Linked DNA regions of Homo sapiens: region 2 is linked to region 1. Evidence: promoter capture Hi-C in 16 types of primary human blood cells and fetal thymus (Javierre and others, 2016). All regions are on one chromosome and are shown on one strand. The core of a region is centred on a gene start or on the middle of the fragment in contact, and the rest is flanking DNA. Distances in the headings are between cores, read along the strand shown.

Evidence for each region. The method cuts DNA at HindIII sites, captures the fragments that hold promoters and counts their contacts. A CHiCAGO score of 5 or more calls a contact.
Region 2: a contact is called between a fragment that was not itself captured here and the fragment with the promoter of ZNF471 in region 1, in 1 of 17 cell types (total B cells). The highest score is 7.1, in total B cells.

What each region holds. Positions count from the first base shown.
Region 1 is chr19:56,506,108-56,509,596 of GRCh38, reverse strand. ZNF471 (zinc finger protein 471) reads right to left here and starts at 1,742. Exons shown (of 5, transcript NM_020813.4): 1 at 1,677-1,742. The HindIII fragment of the contact is 1,838 bases long and covers 332-2,169 here.
Region 2 is chr19:36,838,404-36,841,892 of GRCh38, reverse strand. It overlaps a transcript of ZNF790 not described here. Among named protein-coding and RNA genes, the nearest start is that of ZNF790, 1.8 kb to the right of the region's middle. The HindIII fragment of the contact is 2,456 bases long and covers 831-3,286 here.

The DNA of each region.
Region 1 (3,489 bases), core at 493-2,992:
GCATAAGATCCCACAGGTTGAGGGCTCAGCCCTACAAAATTGCTCCCCACTTCCAATGCCAGTTGCAAACCCCAGGTTGTTTTACTTGTGCTTCTGACTAGCTATAAATCGGGGTTCCTATGACCCCCTCCTTGCGTTCAATTAATTTGCTAGGGCAGCTCACAGAACTTAGGGAAACACGTTTGTAGTAATAAAGGATATTACAAAGGATGCAGGTGAAGAAATGCATAGGACAAGGTTATATAGGAAGGGGCTCATCCTACAGGAACCTCCAGTGTTCAGCTATCTGGAAGTTTGATGAACCCAGTCCTTTTGGGTTTTTATGGAAGCTTCATAATGTAGGCATGACTGGTTAAATCACTGACCACTGATGATCAGTTTAACCTGTGGCTCCCTTTCCTTTCCCTGGAGATTGAGGGATGGGGCAGGTAATCCCAACCCTCTAATCCTGCCTAGATTGTTCTTGTGACCATCCCTTACCGTGATCAACCTACAGGCTGCCAGCCCACCAATCATTAGCATGCAAAAAGACACTTAATACTTTGGAGATTCCAAGGATCTTAGAAGTCGTAAGCCAGGAAACATAACTTTGTCCTATACTTTGATCGCCTCCCTCTCTCTCACAAACTCATAACAACATAACCTAGTCTCACTCTTTGGACTCTCACAGTTTAGTCTCTTTCTCTCTCTCATACACACACACCAGCCTCTCAAGGAGCCTCACATAATGACTGGTCTTTCACACACAGCCACGTGCTCATCTCTCTCACACTCACTGGTCTCACGCTATGTTGTCTCTCACACACGAACACACCCTGGTCTCACACTCTGGTCTCTCTCAGTCTGTCAGACACACATAACACGGCCTCACACACTGACGGGTCTTTCACCCAAAACACCCATTTCTCACACTCACTGGTCTCCCTTTCACACATTAACATACCACAGTCTCACACTCTGTTCTTGCACAGTCTAGTCTCGCATACATGGTGATTCTTCTCTCTCTCGAACACACACCGGCCTCTCATTGAGCCTCACCCACCGACCGACCGGCCTTTCACACACAGGCACACGCCCATCTCTCACACTCACTGGTCTCTCACACTCCATCCAGCCCGTCTCACTCTCTCACACGAATACATCCTGGTCTCACGCTCTGGACACCTGGTCTGTTACACACTTACACACCCACACACCTCGCAACCTCTCACTGAGCTTCACACGCTCTCTTTCAAATGCAGGCACATCCCTATCTCTCTCACACTCACTGGTCTCTCACACTGGCCCGTCTCGCTCTGTCACACACGAACATACCCTGGTCTCACACTGGACTCTCGGTCTGTCACACACACACACACACACACACAGAAACCACACCCTCTCACGGAGCCTCACACTCTGACAGATCTTTTACACACAGGCACACCCCCATCTCTCCCACAGCTCACTCCAGTGGTCCCGCCGCCCCAAGCCGCCCCGAACGCCCAGCAGCCCCGAGCCGCGGCCTCCGCCCCGCAGACTCGAGTACGCGCGCCCCGCTGGCCTCTGGGAAATGTAGTCGTCCTGGGGACAGAGGACGCGGCTGGGCCTTCGCGACCCGCGTCGGAGCCGCCCGCCTCGCCTGCCCTTCCTGGCCCAGCCCTCGAGCTCGGACTCCCAAACCACCCAAAACAAACCCCCGGCCTCGTCTGGCACCCAGACGCTCTCATCCGAAGGACTCCGTGAGTCGACGCTGGAACCCCCCATCGCGCAGGCGCCAGCCTCTCTCCAGGGGTCGGACGAGAGGGGCGGAGACAAGGCGTGGCCTAGTGTTGAGGGGATTGTCCTCGGGCTGCTGAAGGAGTGAGAGGGACCTTAGAGCAGAGCGGGCGGTGCCTGCGCAGTGCGTGATTACGCGAGCCGGGCGTGGCCCAGGGTTCCGGCGGGTAAGAGCAGGAGTGTGCGCAGGCGCAAAGATTGCGCTCTCCCCCTCTCCTCGCCTAGAGACCAGAAGCGTCCCTAGTTACTAGTTCCTGGGGCCTGGGAGGGAAACGCGCGACGGCTGAGCCTTCGGTGTGAGTACGCGTGGGGCTTTGTGACGCTGTCTGTGCCTCTGTGATCGCGATGTCATTCGGAGCGCGGCCTTCTGTGCCAGTCCGTGGGAGTGTCATTATCTTTCTGTGTTAAGCTTATTTTGGAATAAGACAGCGACGAGGAACCCCGACCGTGTTGTGACTCTGGCGAATTAATACCTCTTTCAGCTGCAAATGGGAATGTCACTGATCAGAGGCAGTGAATAACACGACGTTTTTGGAACCAATCTGCTAGGCTTGAACCGCGTTCAGCCCCTTAACAAAATGGAAATGGTCCCCGTTTTAGGGGACTAGCCCTGACTAGGAGAACTGTAGAATTAGTATTGGAAGGTGAGACAAATAAGGAAAAGCAATTCAGGGGGATACAGCAGAGAAAAAAAAATCCCTGTCCTCTTATTATGTAATTTACTTTGAAGCGGAGAGAGACAAGCCACAAATTCATGAGTTAGATAAACAGTCTGATGAACAGTAAAAAGGGCTATGGAGAAATATAACTCAGAGAAGGTTGTATCGTATACATTTTTTCTATTGTCTCTTATAATGTCTTAACATGTCAAAAAAACCTGTCTGCAGCAGACACCAGCCAGGTGACCGCTACTCCAATTCAATTCTGACGCTACCTGGAAAACATCAGATCCTACAGGTTAGACAGCTCAGTCCCAAAAGACTGTCCCCCACTTCCCATGCCAATTCCAAACTCCAGATTGTTGTACCTGTGTTTCAGAGAGATGTGCTATAAATTGGGGCTCCCACAGCCGGCTCCTTGGGTTCCATTAGTTTGCTAGAGCAGCTCACAGAACTCAAGGAAACACTTATGTTTACTGGTTTATTATAAAAGATATTTTAAAGGATACAAATAGCCAGATGAAGAGACATGTAGGGCAAGGTCCGAGAGAATCCCTAGTGCAGGAACTTCTGTGCCCGTGGAGTTGGGGTGCACCACCCTCCCAGCACGAGGATGTGTTTTTGTCTACCTTCTTGGAAGCCGCTTGAACTCAGGCCTTTTCGGTTTTCAAGGTTTCATTATGTAGATGTGATTGATTAAATCATTGGCCACTGGCGATCAACTTAATTTTCAGGCTCTCTCTTTTCCCAGAAGTAGAGGGTGGAGCTGTGAGTTCCAGTCCTCTGAGCACATGGCTGGTTCCTCTGGCAACTAGCCACCACTCCCCCCAAATATTGGGATTATCTTGAGAGTTTCCAAAAATCACCTCATTAACATAAACTCATGTGTGGTTGAAATACTGTCTTTCACCTTTATGGCTCTGGAGCTGTTCTGGAGCTTTTTCAGGAACCAGGAACAAAAGGCCAGATATTTTAACAAAAGATACTTTATTGCTGCAGTCATTTAGGAAATTAAAAGAGCTGTAGGAACTGAGAGCCATGAACTGTACCTTTCTTTCTAACTCCACATTCA
Region 2 (3,489 bases), core at 809-3,308, about 20 Mb after region 1:
AAAAAAATAATAATAACTTCTCCCCTCCCCCCACCCCCCACCCCGAGATGGAGTCTTGCTATGTCCTCCAGGCTGCAGTGCAGTGGTGTGATCTCGGCTCACTGCAACTTCCACTTCCTGGGTTCAAGCAATTCTCCCTGCCTTACCACATCCAGCTAATTTTTGTATTTTTTAGTAGAGATGGGATTTCGCCATGTTGGACAGGCTGGTCTTGAACTCCTGATCTTAGGTGATCCGCCTGCCTTGGCCTAAAAATATATATATATATTTTTTGAGATGGAGTCTTGCTCTGTTGCCCAGGCTGGAGTGCAGTGGTGTCATCTCAGCTCACTGCAACCTCCATTCCCCAGGTTGAAGAGGTTCTCATGTCTCAGCCTCCTGAGTAGCTGGGATTACAGGCACGAGCCACCATACCCAGCTAATTTTTGTATTTTTAGTAGAGATGGGGTTTCACCACATTGGCCAGGCTGGTCTCAAACTCCTGACCTCATGCGATCCACCTGCCTTGGCCTCCCACAGTGCTGGGATTACAGGCATGACCCACCGTGCCCAGCCTGTTCCTTCCATTAATCTATCTTTCTGTCCTTCACCAAAAACACACTGTCTTGATTACTTAGGGCATCTCAACCTTGGACCATTATTTGGGACTGGATAATTCTTTGTTGTGGCAAGCTATCCTGTGCTTGTAGTGTATTTAGCAGCTTCCCTGACCTCTGTCCTCTAAATGCAAATTGTACCTCTCCAGTTGTGACTACCAAGAACTTCATACTGTGCTGTATATCTCCTGGAGAACAAAATCACCTCTGGTTGAAAAACATTATGGTAAAGCTTTGAAAATATTAATAATATTTTAAATTCCTTTTTAGATAGTTCCAACATCTACATCATATCTTTTTCTTTTCTTTTAATTTTTGAGGTAGGGTCTTGCTTTGTTGCCCAGGCTAGAGTGCAGTGGTGCAATCACAGTTCACTGCAGCCTCAAGCTCCTGGGGAGATCCTACCTGAGTCTACCTCTATTTGTTTGTTGTTGCTTTTTGCTTTTATGTCTTGAGTGTCATGATTTTTCTTGCCTTTTCATGTGTCTTGTAATTTGATGTTGCTGAAAACCATACATCTTTAGGACAGTAGTGAGCAGAAATTAGTTAACATAGCAGGTCTGAGACTACTTATCCTTAGAAAGGCCTGATATGCGAGGTTAGTCTTTGGCTTGCATCTAGAACTTGAATTTCAGATTGGTTCCCACCTTCCTAATAAGTGGCTTACTATGCCTAAACTTTTTGTACAAACAGTATGGTTTATGTTAAACACCCGCTTTCCTTCTGGGAATTTGAAATTCTGGTATGTGTTAGGCACAGACTGCCTATGTGACCAGCCCCCAATAAAAACATAGGGCACTGAATCTATAATAAACTGCCCTGATTGGTAACATCTCACATGTATTGTCACAACTCACTGCTGGGGAACAAATAAATCCCATATAAATTTACTGGGAAAGAACCCTTCGCAGTGTGCACCTGGTTTCCCCTGGACTTTGCCCCATGCGCTTTTTTCTTTACTGATTTTCTTTTGTATCACTTCACTGTGAGCCTCCCAGTGAATCATCAGAGCTTGGGCGTGTAGTGGTTGGTCTTGGGGTCCCCTGCCAGTAGTACCAGGAAAATGATGTTGATGGCTGGATGGGCATACCTTTCCTTCTGTAAGGCCTTTACTATGGGGTTTTCGGTTAATCCAGTTAGGAGTTTAACAACTAATCAAGACAGAAAATTTGTACAATTTGATTGCATTTATATACATTTCACAGCAAGATTAAAACTTTTTTTTCTTTTTTTGAGATGGAGTTTCGCTCTTGTCGCCCAGACTGGAGTGCAGTGGTGTGATCTTGGTTCACTGCAACCTCTGCCTCCTGGGTTCAAGCGATTCTCCTGCCTCAGCCTCCAGAGTAGCTGGGATTACAGGCATGCACCACCACACCTAGCTAATTTTTGTATTATTAGTAGAGACAGGGTTTTACCATGTTAGCCAAGCTGGTCTCGAACTCCTGACCTCAGGTGATCCACCCTCCTCAGCCTCCCAAAGTGCTGGGATTACAGGCGTGAGCCACCGCGTCCAGCTGAGAGATTAAAACTATTAAAGAGCCAAGATATTATTAATACCCTAAAGATCAGCTGGAGCTGGAGCTGGGTATCAGAAATGATCACACAGGTTATGTGCAGTGACTCATGCCTGTAATGCCAGTACTTTGTGAGGCCTACTTGGGAGGATCACTTGAGCCCAGGAGTTCGAGACCAGCCTGGCCAACATGGCGAGACCCTGTCTCTATAAAAATTAGCTGAGTGTGATGGCACACACCTGTAGTCCCAGCTATTCTGGAGGCTGAGGTGGGAGGATCACTTGAGCCAGGGAGGCAGAGGTTGCAGAGAGCCTAGATCGTGCCACTGTACTCCAGCCTGGGTGACAAAGCCAGACCCTGTCTCAAAAAAAACAACAAACAAACAAACAAAAAGAGAAATGATCACATAGAATGGGCATTTGTTCTTGAGATACCAACACTTGTGTGGAGTTATACTGAACTTACACATTTTATGCACTTCAAGTATTTTCTGTTTCACAATAAAAAAAGAAACAACTATTTTAGTTACCTGATAAGTTTGAAAGTACTGAAAAAAATTACTCCTCTGTCAGAAAGTTTAGATGTAGATTGAAATGATGTACATCTAAAAGAGAAGCAAATGAAAACTGGCAAGTGTGTACTTCAGCAAAAAGAATGGCATGAATGGAATTTACAAAACAGTACTAATGTTACTATAAACATTAATTGAAACCAAACACTTTAAGGGCGATTGGAGGATGGGAATAAGGTATTAGGAAGAGTTCTCATGGATTCCCAGACAGGGTACCCCTATAGGGCTGGGCATGTAGCTGTGTCCCATGGATCGTTTCCCCTTCGTTCTATCCCAGGCTGGTACTTGTGGGACAAGAGGTGTCCACCCAGCCGGGCCGAGGCTCGGGCAGAGACGGGACAGACTCGCCACTCGCTTGGCACAGTCTTGTAGGACTTTCCCGCCATGCCACATAGGTCAGAGGCCCACGCAGCGAGCTCCTACTGAAAACCATCGCACCATCCCCCCGGGGCATTTCTGCAGTGTTCCAGGCTCTGGACTACATTTCCCAGGGCCGTCGGGACCAAGGTTACTTCCAGCCTAAGATGGCCTGGGCTTACTGTCCTGTTCCCAGGGCTGGGAGCCTTTTGCAGAGGTAGGGCAGCCTGCATGCCTCCGCTGAAGCTTCCTAAACGCGGCCTGGAATTCTGGAAGCTCTCGGCAGCAGATGTGAGCGGTGTGTGGGCGATGGTCTTTGCCCAGCGAGGGGATGGGGCTCAAATGCAGGGTCCGTTAATGGTGACCGCGGTGTCCGGGGCAGTTAAAGACGGCCCAGGCTCCGGACTACATTTCCCAGAGTGCACCGTTCCCCGGGCAACTTCCTGTCAGC